Regions from separate parts of the Homo sapiens genome. Here region 2 is linked to region 1. The links are contacts of gene promoters, found by promoter capture Hi-C in human tissues and cell types (Jung and others, 2019). All regions are on one chromosome and are shown on one strand. The core of a region is centred on a gene start or on the middle of the fragment in contact, and the rest is flanking DNA. Distances in the headings are between cores, read along the strand shown. Region 1 holds the start of ARL1 (ARF like GTPase 1). Region 2 overlaps LINC00485 (long intergenic non-protein coding RNA 485).

Evidence for each region. Contacts are between HindIII fragments. The study calls those that stand out against the background at their distance.
Region 2: a fragment that was not itself captured here is called in contact with the fragment with the promoter of ARL1 in region 1 in 1 of the 25 tissues and cell types used here (lymphoblastoid cells).

What each region holds. Positions count from the first base shown.
Region 1 is chr12:101,404,351-101,410,269 of GRCh38, reverse strand. It overlaps ARL1 (ARF like GTPase 1), which reads left to right and starts at 2,498. Exons shown (of 6, transcript NM_001177.6): 1 at 2,498-2,628; 2 at 4,289-4,426. The coding sequence starts at 2,625. RefSeq lists enhancers at 2,836-2,885, 2,966-3,015. The HindIII fragment of the contact is 11,101 bases long and covers 1-3,382 here.
Region 2 is chr12:102,817,750-102,823,668 of GRCh38, reverse strand. It overlaps LINC00485 (long intergenic non-protein coding RNA 485), which reads left to right. Exons shown (of 5, transcript NR_033855.1): 2 at 906-961; 3 at 2,452-2,571. Among named protein-coding and RNA genes, the nearest start is that of LINC00485, 3.7 kb to the left of the region's middle. The HindIII fragment of the contact is 6,778 bases long and covers 1-5,919 here.

The DNA of each region.
Region 1 (5,919 bases), core at 1,249-3,748:
ACATTGACCTAAGTTTGAAGTAGTAATGGCCAAGATCTTTCAAGCAGCAGCAAACTAATCTTGTTTAAGAGGAGGTATTATAGAATCATAAGCACAGAGGTCCAATAATTAGACCACACAGTGCTTACAAAGGATAGCCTTAGAAAGGTTCAGGTGTTTAGGTAGAGCCCTTCTCCCCTTCTCAAACCATTAACAAAAATAAAAATAAACAAAACAAAACTTTTCCTTGCAGGAAAATTTCCGTGAACCTGTGGTTTTGGGGGCAAGGATGAGAGCAAGAGGCAAAAACTAGTTCAGAACCTAGACAACTAGTGGAGTCTGCAAACAAATCAAAACCAAGATAGGCATGGTTGGTGAGCATGTAAATTGGTATAGCCACTATGGAAGGCAGTATGGAGGCTCCTCAAAAAATTAAAAATAGAACTACAGTATAAACCATATAGTATATACCATATATATCATATATGCATATGTACCATATATACAATATATACGTATATACCATATATTCTGGGTATATATCCAAAGAAAATGAAATCAGTATGTCAAAGAGATATCTGCATCACCATGCTCATTGCAGCATTATTCATAATAGCCAAAGTATGGAATCACCTAAGAGTGAACTGATGGATAAAGAAAACGTGAAATGTAAAAATGTGGTATATGTATGTATATTTATATATATAATGAATACTATGCAGCCTTTAAAAAGAAGAAAATCCTGTCATTTGTGACAACATGGGTGAATTTATGCTAAGGGAAATAAGCTAGGCACAGAAACACAAATACTTCATGATCCCACTTATATGTAGAGTCAAAAAAAGTGGAACTCATAGAATGAGAGCAGAATAATGGCGGGATCTTGGCTCACTGCAACCTCTGCCTCCCAGGCTCAAGTGATCCTCCCATCTCAGCCTCTCAAGTAGCTGGGACTACAAGTGCCACTGTGCCTGGCTAATTTTTTTATTTTTTTGTAGAGATGGGGTCTCACTATGTTGCCTAGGCTGGACTCCAACTCCTGGGCTCAAGGGATCTGCCCGCCTCGGCCTCCCAAAGAGCTGGGATTACAGGCCTGAGCCACGACACCTGGCCGACCTTAAATATTCTTAGCACAAAATAAACATATACACACAAGCACACACGACTATGTGAGGTGATGGGTATGTTATCATTTCACAACATATACAACTATGAAAACATCACATGGTACACTGTAAATATATACAATTTTTATTTAAAGCTAGAAAAATTCTTTTAAAATAAACTAAAAAGGCAGTCCATAAGCTTCTGTTGAATGGATGAAAATCTCTACCATAAATAAAAACATAATATGCAAAGGTATTAATAAGATTTGGAAGAAAACCTAAGAGAGTATTAACAGTAGTGACTACTGGGGATCACCGAGATACAGGGTATTAGGGATGGAAGGTTTACTTTTCTCTTTTTTTTTTTGAGACGGAGTGTCGCTCTGTCGCCCAGGCTGGAGTGCAGTGGCACGATCTCGACTCACTGCAACTTCTGCCTCCTGAGTTCAAGTGATTCTCCTGCCTCAGCCTCCTGAGTAGCTGGGACTACAGGCGCCCGCCACCACGCCTGGTGAATTTTCTGTATTTTTAGTAGAGACGGGGTTTCACCGTGTTAGCCACGATGGTCTCGATCTCCTGACCTCGTGATCCGCCCGCCTCGGCCTCCCAAAGTGCTGGGATTACAGGCGTGAGCCACCGCGCCCGGCCGGAAGGTTCACTTTTCAATGGATCTTTGGGAAGTTTCAAAACATACATGCTCAACCTTTAAAAATTTCTCTAGGGGAAATCCCTTCTCCACATCCTATAGGTGTGCTTCCTTCTTCCTCTCCACACACTTCACTATCAAAACCTACATTACTTCCAACAGTCGACCCTCGAGGGAATAAGTCCCTGGTCCCCACGATCGGGACCAGCCAGTCCACACTGCCGACCCCTGAAAGGCGGTCTCAGCTGCTCGGTCAGCGAGAAAAAAAGCCGGCGAGGTCCTCGTCCTGCAGGCCACAGCGAAGACAAAAACCTCTGGTTACTGGCCTCAGGTGCAAGGCTGCTCCGCATTGGCAGCGCGGTACCATTCCTATTATTATTACGTAGTCTTGTTTCTTTCTGGGAGAAAGCACCTAGGGAGAGTTGGGCTGGCCCCGCAGGGCGCTCCGGGACACGCGTCCTCTGCAACGCCGCAGCCTGCGCCAGCGTTCGACCGGGACGACTCATCGAGGCCCGACTCGCATTTTCAGTTGTCAGATTCGCCACTTTTTGGTGTCAGAATTTAAAACAAAAATTCCAATTTCTCTATTTCAGAAGCTCTTTCTGTCCAGAAAAACACAAGCAGGAGAGACTTCAGGTTTTTGAATTATTCGTCTCTTCTGGCCTCCACGGTATCTACATCCAGTGAGCGGGGACCGTGAGTCGAAAGCGACGACGCGGATGCTCAGGCCACCGTTCCCGGCGCGCAGTCGCAGCTGACCCTCGCTCCCGCCCCCGCCTGGAGTCCGACGTGGAAGTTGCTGGCTGACTGGGCTTGCGAGGAAACCGCCTCGGAGCTGCAGCCGAAGGCCAAGGAATCACTGAAGATCGGCGAGGGAGGACAGGGGGTTCATCATGGGTGAGGGGTTCGAGAAGGGCACCTGGGCGCGCTCGAGGGAGCCGCGGCCGAGGGCTGGGGTGCAGAGGAGGAGAGGGGCCGGCCAGGATACCCTAGAGTAGCCAGCTCCTCAGGGGGCGGGTCGCGGAGGACTTGACTCACTTTGGATCTTCATCTGTAGGGGTGGATCCGGCCTCTCGCGTTCTCCTCCGTCCTCTCTCGGTTCCCCTTGATTCCTGCGGGGTCCAGGGACCCGGACAGCTTGGGGACGTCCGCAGAGCCTGGGTTCGAGTTCTTTACCCTTATCATGAAGTTTTCCCTCATCCCCAGCTCCACTTGCTGGGCAGAGTTGTTCTTGCGGAGGCTGGCAACGCGTCAGTCGCAGGTTCGCCGAGGTTTCTTGGTGAAAGATGAGCTGCGGCCCCAGAGTGGAAGCTTAATCATTCTCTTTACCAGGGGCGCTGGGACGGCGTCAGTTTGAAAAACCTGAGAGCAGGTGTTGCTTATGTTGTTTTATGGCCAGTTTGGCATTTGTCTGCTAATCTGCTGTAGCGTTTCATGTAATAATACGGGTATTTCTAGTCGGCAAATGAAACTTTATTCTTGGTTCTTGGCCCGCTGATTGAGGGAACTGCATTCTCACAAGCATCAGGTAACACCCTCGCCCCGCTAGAACCCAAGTGAGGGTGCACATTCTTTAACTCGTTTCTCACCCTCCAAATGAAGGTGCAGATTCTTTGGCTTGGTTAAATCCCTCCACAGTTTTCTGGGGAGCATACTTCTTGCTCCCAAGCATCACAGGCGCTGTCCTGTCTTCCATAACCGCCTTCAGTTTTGTTCCGCCTCTCTTCTACCTGTAAATGGTAGAAAGGACTTTGTCAAGTCACACCTATTCTGTTGAACTTTCCCAAGGTTCTCTAGCCCATGGTGTTGTTCATTTTTCAACTCGCAGCTCTTAGTTATGCCATGTCTTTGCCAAATAACAGTGTGGCATCACTTCTGATGTTAACTATTTTTTTTTGTATTAATGTAACTTGTTTTTAATCTTCTCTAATGGCTCTGGATGGGAAAAGGACTGTGCTTTTTATCCTACACAATACTTGGTGTACAGGAAGCTTTCTGGGAATATTTTGTGATGCATTGGATAGAGCTTTATTATTTTTAAAAGTGGGTTTTTTGTCAAAAATAGTTATTGTTTTCAGCTTTTTTCTCAATTTCTTGTACTAGCTATATTGCTTCGTGGAGAACTCTGATTGAAGTTGGTTATAGTGGTACTGCTGCTGTACAGTACTTTTCCTGTGCGAGGATTACATTGTCCCACTATCCTCCTTACTGGCCCCTTGGTTTTTAGGGGTAGTGAGGGGATCATGCTAAAATATTCCTATTCTGCTGATTAGAAAATGAGATTCCCAAAGGCCGCGGCCATATTTCTCTTATTATTTGGTTTATCTTCTGTGCCTGCATGACACAATAGTAACATAACTAAGGACATAGTAACATAACTAATTACTTGTTTGATATTGAATAATATATTTCATTGGGAGGAAAAATATGCACCTACGCATCCAGGAAATTATAATATTTAATTTGGTATTTAGCTCTCAAAGGACAAGGTTAGATGTTTTGTATACCTAGTTCACAAAATGACATTGTGTATGTTTTTTCTTTTATTATTTTTTAGGTGGCTTTTTCTCAAGTATATTTTCCAGTCTGTTTGGAACTCGGGAAATGAGAATTTTAATTTTGGGATTAGATGGAGCAGGAAAAACCACAATTTTGTACAGATTACAAGTGGGAGAAGTTGTTACTACTATACCTAGTAAGTGTTGGTATGATGAGCTAATTGTAGGGACTTTCTGGTCTCCATCCAACATAACTATTTCTTTCTTTCTTTTTTGTTTGTTTTAGTAGAGATCAGGTATCATCACTATGTTGTCCAAGCTGGTCTTAGACTCTTGGCCTCAAGTGATCCTCCTGCCTTGGCCTCCCAAAGTGCTGGGATTACAGGCATGAGCCACTATGCCAGGCCTATTTCTGAATAAATTAATTCATATAATAAAGTATTTGATAAAGTTTGTAAACTGCTAGTATGAACATAACATTGATAACACTTTTTCCATCAACTAAGAGGCAGCTTAGTGTAATTTAAGGACCCTTGTTCTGGTTTACGGCCGGGTTGGGCTGTTTATAGGTTTAAGTTACTAAATCTTACTGAGAGCCAGTATCTTTACTAATAAAATACATAAGATAACAAATACCCACTGGTTTTCAGGGGGAAATAAACAAAGTAGGTAAAAGTACCTTTTAAATCTGTGTAAAGAATTATATAAATGTTAAGTGATGTTACATGTGAAGTGCCTTTTTTTCCTGTATTTGTTACTATTTTAATTAAGATTAGTTTATCTTAGGTAATTATATTGATTACTTTTAAAGATCTGAGTTGCAGAGACTGAGTGTTGAAGTAATTTGGTACCTTAAAAATATCAAGAGAAGGCCGGGCACAGGAGCTCACGCCTGTAATGGCAGCACTTTGGGAGGCCAAGGCGGGTGGATCACCTGAGGTCGGGAGTTGGAGACCAGCCCAACCAACATGGAGAAACCCCATCTCTACTAAAAATACAAAATTAGCCAGGCGTGGTGGTGCATGCCTGTAATCCCAACTACTCGGAAGGCTGAGGCAGGAGAATCGCTTGAACCTGGGAGGCAGAGGTTGTGGCAGGCCAAGATTGCACCATTGCACTCCAGCCTGGGCAACAAGAGCAAAACTAGGTCTCAAAATATATATGTGTATATGTATATATTTATTAAGAGAAGAAATACCTCAATTTTAATCAATTATTACTGTCTTACAAAAATATTCTCCAACAGTCTTACTGACTATATGAGAATACTGTTGTTATTTATACTTTTTTCATTTGTTGCCTTGAATTTACTTAGAGAAGAGTAGTACATTTAAATTAAAGAGTTCATACAGTTTGCTCAAGATTTTTTAAATTATGCCTCTAATGTTAGTCTGTCACTCAGGGTATTTCTATATTGTTACTGTTTAAATTTATGGACTAAAACGAAAGAGGCTAGCCTCTAAGAAAGAAGAGCGTTTTGAACCCTGTAATGTCTGTTATTCCTTTTTGCTACCTTCAGTAAATTTTAGTGCCCTTAGTTTTTGCTTCTCAAAATCACCCATCTCTGTCTGGGCATCTCCTGCAGTGCACAGAGCAGCACAGTGGATAGTTTGGAGTTTCAGTGAGTGCTGCTTTACACCACACTCTTTGTTGAGACAGTGTCTTGCTTTTTTGCCCAGGCTGGAGTGCA
Region 2 (5,919 bases), core at 1,870-4,369, 1.4 Mb before region 1:
CTGTTAACCCCCAAAGGACTCAGGGCTCGTCGTAGAGAGAGTGGGAGGCTGGACTAGGCAGTGGGGAGAAGATAGAGGAAGGTGGAAGGTGGCCACCAAGTTTTCTTCTTGGTTGGGCATTAGAATGGGAATGCAGACATGCTGTTGTCTTTAAGGATTTAGAATATAAATTACTGCTGTTGGTTATGGGTATCCGAACTAGAATCAGAAGCAGGAAGTGTTTGTAAAAGGGTGTCTGGAAATCTGAAAACTAAATATTCAGTTAGGCTTTACCTACTTAGTTGAAGACAGAAAAAAACAACCACCTGATATCTTCAGGCAAGTGCTGCATGCTCTAAAAAGACACCATTTGGGGAGTATAAAAGAATACACCAACATGATCTCTGCAGCAAATGTCGCAATACAAGCCAAGTGCCCACTAGTAAGATTGCTCAGATAAATTATTATCTATGTAACAGAACATTGTTCAAGAGTTCAAAATAAAATGAAGTAAATCTATAAATAATGACCTAGGGAAGTCTATGAGGTATTTTTAAGCAAACAAAAAGCATGACCACATTTCCATTTTTTGAAAAACGCTATTAATGATGTATATGTATATACATGGATATATGTATGTTTGCATGATCACAGAGGATAACAGAAACTAGCAAGTGGGAATGTTGCCAGTGGTTACTACTGGGTCTGAAATGATGGTCAAAGACTGCTCTTGCTCTTTATCCCACATGCTGTTTTAAAAAGAAGAAAGATAATGTGATTAAAGGTAATTTGAACTTGTTACTCTTGCTGTTTTTATTTTTATTTTACTATTTTATGTCATAAAATATTACTGAAATTTGAGGATAAAAAGCAAGTACGTGAAGATTTCAATTACTGATCCATCTCTCCCTTTCAATCCCTTGAAGCAAAGATTCGTCATTTAGAATTCAGACCTGCCAAGACCACGGATGCTTTGTCTCAGGTGAAAATTTACATGAAATGTAACACTTCTAAGTCCATTGTCACCATGTTTATTGATGCCTTAAAACAAGAGCTCAGATGTGGGCATGCTCACCCAAAAGAAAGAGGTAAATCATTGTATTTCTCTATGCAGAGGCTCTGAATCTAAACTGAGGATGGAGATAAAGTTCTGCCATTTCCCTGGATTGGCTATGATTACAAACCTGTTCCACTTTAAAGGCAGTTCCTGGAATTGGCATGTGCCACAGTCTACACACAACTTTGCTATTTCAAGCCTTTCTAACTAAGGAGACAGCAGAACATCATAGTTAAACAAGGGCTGAACATGGTTTTGCCATTCACTCAATACATGACCTTAAGCAAGTTATTCATCATCTTGTGCTTTGGTTTCCTCACTGGTAAGGTGAGAACATAACAGTATCCACCTTATAGGTTTGATGGGAGTGTTAAGGAAGACAAGCCTGTAAGGAGCTTAGCAGAATGCTAACTGTAGTAGTTATTATCACTAATCCTACGTGGAAAAAATGCAAATCAAGGAGAGTGGAAACCTGTTGAAAGCAAATTGGTCCTTTTTGGATAAAAATATCCATAATGAACAAGAGGGATGGAGCTGGAGATTATAGGTTAAGGAACCTGACGCTACAGTCTGCATAGTTAGATGGAATAACGTGGAGGGTTTGAGTCAGGACCCCTGGATTCAACTCCCAGCTGTGCCGCTTACCAGCTATTCCCACATGAACAAATATGTTACCTCTCTGTACTTCTTGTTAACTACAAAATGCCAACAATAATACACACTTTCTATGCAGACTGTGAAAATTAAACGAATTCTAAGCATTCAGTACATGTTAGCTACCATCTGTCTCTTACCCTCTAAAAGCAAAATTGCTTCAGATGCTCTCAGTGACCCTCCCCCCACCCTTCTGCCCTTTCCTTTTCAGTGCAGAATGGCTGGCTGCCAACTGCCAGCTCCTAAGTTTCTCTTTTTAAAAGTTTTATTCAGATTCTAAGGCACTTTGCCTTTATGGTAGACCAAAAGTTCCTAGGAATTAATACCTTTGCATCACATTATTCCTCTACCAATGACCAGTAAGAGCTGGTAGAGGCTTTCTTCCTCACTGACTCTCAAAGTTTTATCAGAGGCAGTAAGCTCAGTTGCCCACAATAATAGCTGCCTGCCTGATAACACTCCATGTAATTATTGCCTTTCTTTACCTGTCTCTGTTTCCCATTTTTCTATTTTTAGTTTCCAACTATACTATTTCCACCAGGATCCTTTTCTCAGAGTCTGCTTCTAAAAGACCCAAACTAGGACATATGTGCATATGATGATAATGACGACAATGATGAAGACGATGATGATGATGATGATGATGATGATGGTGTGTGTTTCTCACCCAAGCTTCTGCGTTGTTTTTTCCCCAAGAGTCTCATCTATTAGCCCTTATCCTATAAATGATTAATGCTAATGTCTCTTTTTTTCTCTCTTAGCTCGGATATCTTCATTTCTCCTTCTTACAGTTTCCTTGTTTCCGAGGAAAAACACAAGATCTTGACAACTGCAATCACCTGGTAACCAATCATGAATCTGGTATGGACCACTTTCACCCTGTAAGTAAAATGCACTTGTTTATCTTAATTCCACCTCACAACTTATTGGTTATACTCTTCAACCTTCCAAAAAGAAGATTCTAGGCAGGCTTTTTATCTGCACTGAAAATAAATGCCATCATTGCCACTATCACGCAAGAAGCTGACAGGCAGATCCCTATCTTTCCTAAGAATATGGCTAGAAATTTAGGCCAATCAATATGTTGTACTATAAAAACTCTAGCCCCAAATATATAGACAAAGGTAAATTGAACTCTCTTGTTCATGTGTAACTTGGAGAGAGTAATTCCACACAGTAGAGTGAGTAGTCTGGAGTGAATAGTCTGGGCTGGGTTTATATCTTGCCTCCTCCACTCCTAGCTGGGTAACCTTGGGGAATTTATTTAACCTACATCAACTTTGGTCTCCCTGTTTATGAATTGGGGATAATGAAAATAATACATACTTCACATTCTTTTTGGTAAGGATTATATATACTATATATAGTAAGTACTTAATACAAAGGCATATAGTTAGTGTCCAGGAAATGTTAACCCTTGTTATTCCTATTGATAATAATAATAAACAGCAATAGAATCTTACTGAGGAACCATAAGGGACCTCATGGTACATACCAGATTTATACATCTCAAAGCTGAAAAGAGACCACAGACATTCTGCAGCACAGAAATTCCCCAGCTGAGGTCAGGTGAGGTGACCTTCTCAAAAACACAGGATTCATTTCAACAAGCAAACGTGGTGATTGCTTACTGCATGATAGATATGATTGTTGATATTGGGTTTGTTATTGTACGTACTACAGGCTAAGAGGAGAGTTAGTTTTTGGAACACAAAAAGGCTATAATTTCATGCAGAATCTGTTTATTGAGATCTAGCAGGTGGCCACAAATAATACCTAACACCAGCTGAAAATAGGAAACCATTTCTCTTTTCCAGGCCAAGAATATTTCCAGGAACCAAACTGCTTTGGAAGGGGAAGTGGGGCTTCTTGGATAAAGTTTCCTGGAGAGAAAAGGAGTTCTAATTAGTATGGGCACTGAGGTGAGGATAGATAGAAACAGACATGGGGGCAGCATGCTTCTGTCTGGCCACCCTTAGCGGGTTGATATCTTGATCAGTTGGTTGGTCAGTTCCTAGGATAGAATAAGGATCCACAGCATGTAGACCATATCACTGCCTAGGAAACACACAGTGGTGCTTGCCCTAGGAATTTCTGCCCCTTCTTTCCAAGACCCCACATTGGAGGCTCTATCCAGAGTGAACTACTGAAATTCTTTTAGAACTTTTAACCCAAATAAAGCTGGGCTACCTTATGTCCTATTTTAGAAATAGTACTTCTTTCTAAAGAAATGTCATCATGACAAAAACAAAAAAACAACAACAAAAAACATTGTCAAGCAATATAATTCTTTAGTGGAATCTTTGGAAAGGGCAACTTATGGGAAATTCCATTTCTTGCCATACAGTAAAATGCCCTGATGCGCCACAAATTGCTCTTCTCTCTTTTCCTGTACTTTTTATCAGTCTCAAACCTCCAGCTCTTCTTTCTTTCTCATATTTATCTTCCTATCTCCTGACTTTCTGGCTCCAAAGATAACAGCGTTATGGTACACATCAGAATCTCTGAAACCAAATTGGCTAATTAGCTTTGAACCTCGGCACTATCATGGTTTGTTTGTGGTCTTGGAAAAGTTGCCCAACAGTGGTTGACATATATTATATTAACTTTTACCTTGTGCCAGGCAGGTATTAAGTAACTAGCCCAAAGTTACTTAGCTAGTTAATGATAGAGCCAGGACCTGGCTCAAGCAACTTGACTCCAAAGCCTACATTCTTCTTCTTTTTTTTTTTTTTTTTTTTTTTTTTTTTTTTTTTTTAGCGGAGTCTTTCTCTGTCACCCAGGCTGGCACAGTGCAATGGCACGATCTCAGCTCACTGCAACCTCCGCCTCCTGGGTTCAAGTAATGCTCCTGCCTCAGCCTCCTGAGTAGCTGAGATTACAGATGCATGCCACCACACCCAGCTAATTTTTTTTTTTTTTTTGTATTTTTAGTAAAGACAGGATTTCACTATGTTGGCCAGGCTGGTCTTGAACTCCTGACCTCAAGCAATCCTCCTACCTTTGCCTCCCCAAGTGCTGGGATTACAGGCGTGAGCCACCACACTTGGCCCAAAGCCCAGACTCTTGAGGACTATGCTGTTCTGCTATGTTATGCCTCAGTTTTCTCATCTTTAGATGGGGGTAATAATAATACTGCTTCATGGCAGGAAAAATAATGTACTGGGGAGTGTTAACGCTATAAATATATTAATTTCCTTCTGACATTAAATGGTTTTAATGGTTGCATTTTACTGAGTCTACTAAAATTCAGAGACATTAAGTTACTTTTTTTGTAGTCTCCCTGGTAAGTTGCTGAACAAAGCTGGGCTTAAATTTAAATCTATACTATTTCTAGTTGAGGCATTCAAACTCATACTCAGCCATCTGAGGATGATGTAGTATTGGGCGTCTGATTTTTACCTTCCTGGGCCTCAGTTTTCTCACCTTTAAATTTAGGGTGTTCACCTCACAAATCCATGATAATTATAAAAATTCGATATAAAATTGTAATTTGTAGACCTTCCAATGGCATGGACATGTTAAGTGTGGTATTGTTAAGTATTATTGGGTCTTTCTAGAAGCGTTTGCCCAAGTTGCACAGAGCTGGGGAATAAACAAAGTTTCATGGAAACACCAGACACGTCAAAATCACCCAAGGACACCACAGATGGCCATTCAGCCTACTGGGGGATCTAGTAAGAGAACCTACTGAGGAGAGGATAGAGGGGAGCCTGCTAAGGTACCTGAGGCCAGAGATACAGGAAAATTAGCTGACCTCACTGCACATGTGGGGATGGGGGGAGAATCCCTGTTCTGCTGGAACAACAGCGCTTCAGAGAGGCTACTACTCATGGTGAAGAAGGAAGCTTTAACAGTGGAGATCATGAAGACCACAATCACCTACACATCCAATCTTCCCTTATCCCCTGTCCTAACAGAATCGCTGTACTTGCCTTTCCTTTGAACGTGGGTTGCCTCAGGCATTTGTTCAACAAATACTTGTTAAGCACCTATGATGTGACAGACACTATTCCAAAGCATACAGACAAGATTTCTGCTTTTATAATATCTGTATCCTGACAGAGGGAGGCAGGAGGGGAGACTAAAAGAAACAAATGAAGGATATGATTATTTTGTCTGATAAAGACTGTGAAGAAAATAAACATCTGATTGCTCATCAAAATCATCTTTGGTAATAGATCATGATATACTTTTGCCAAATAACCTGAAGGTGCTCAAAGAATTGA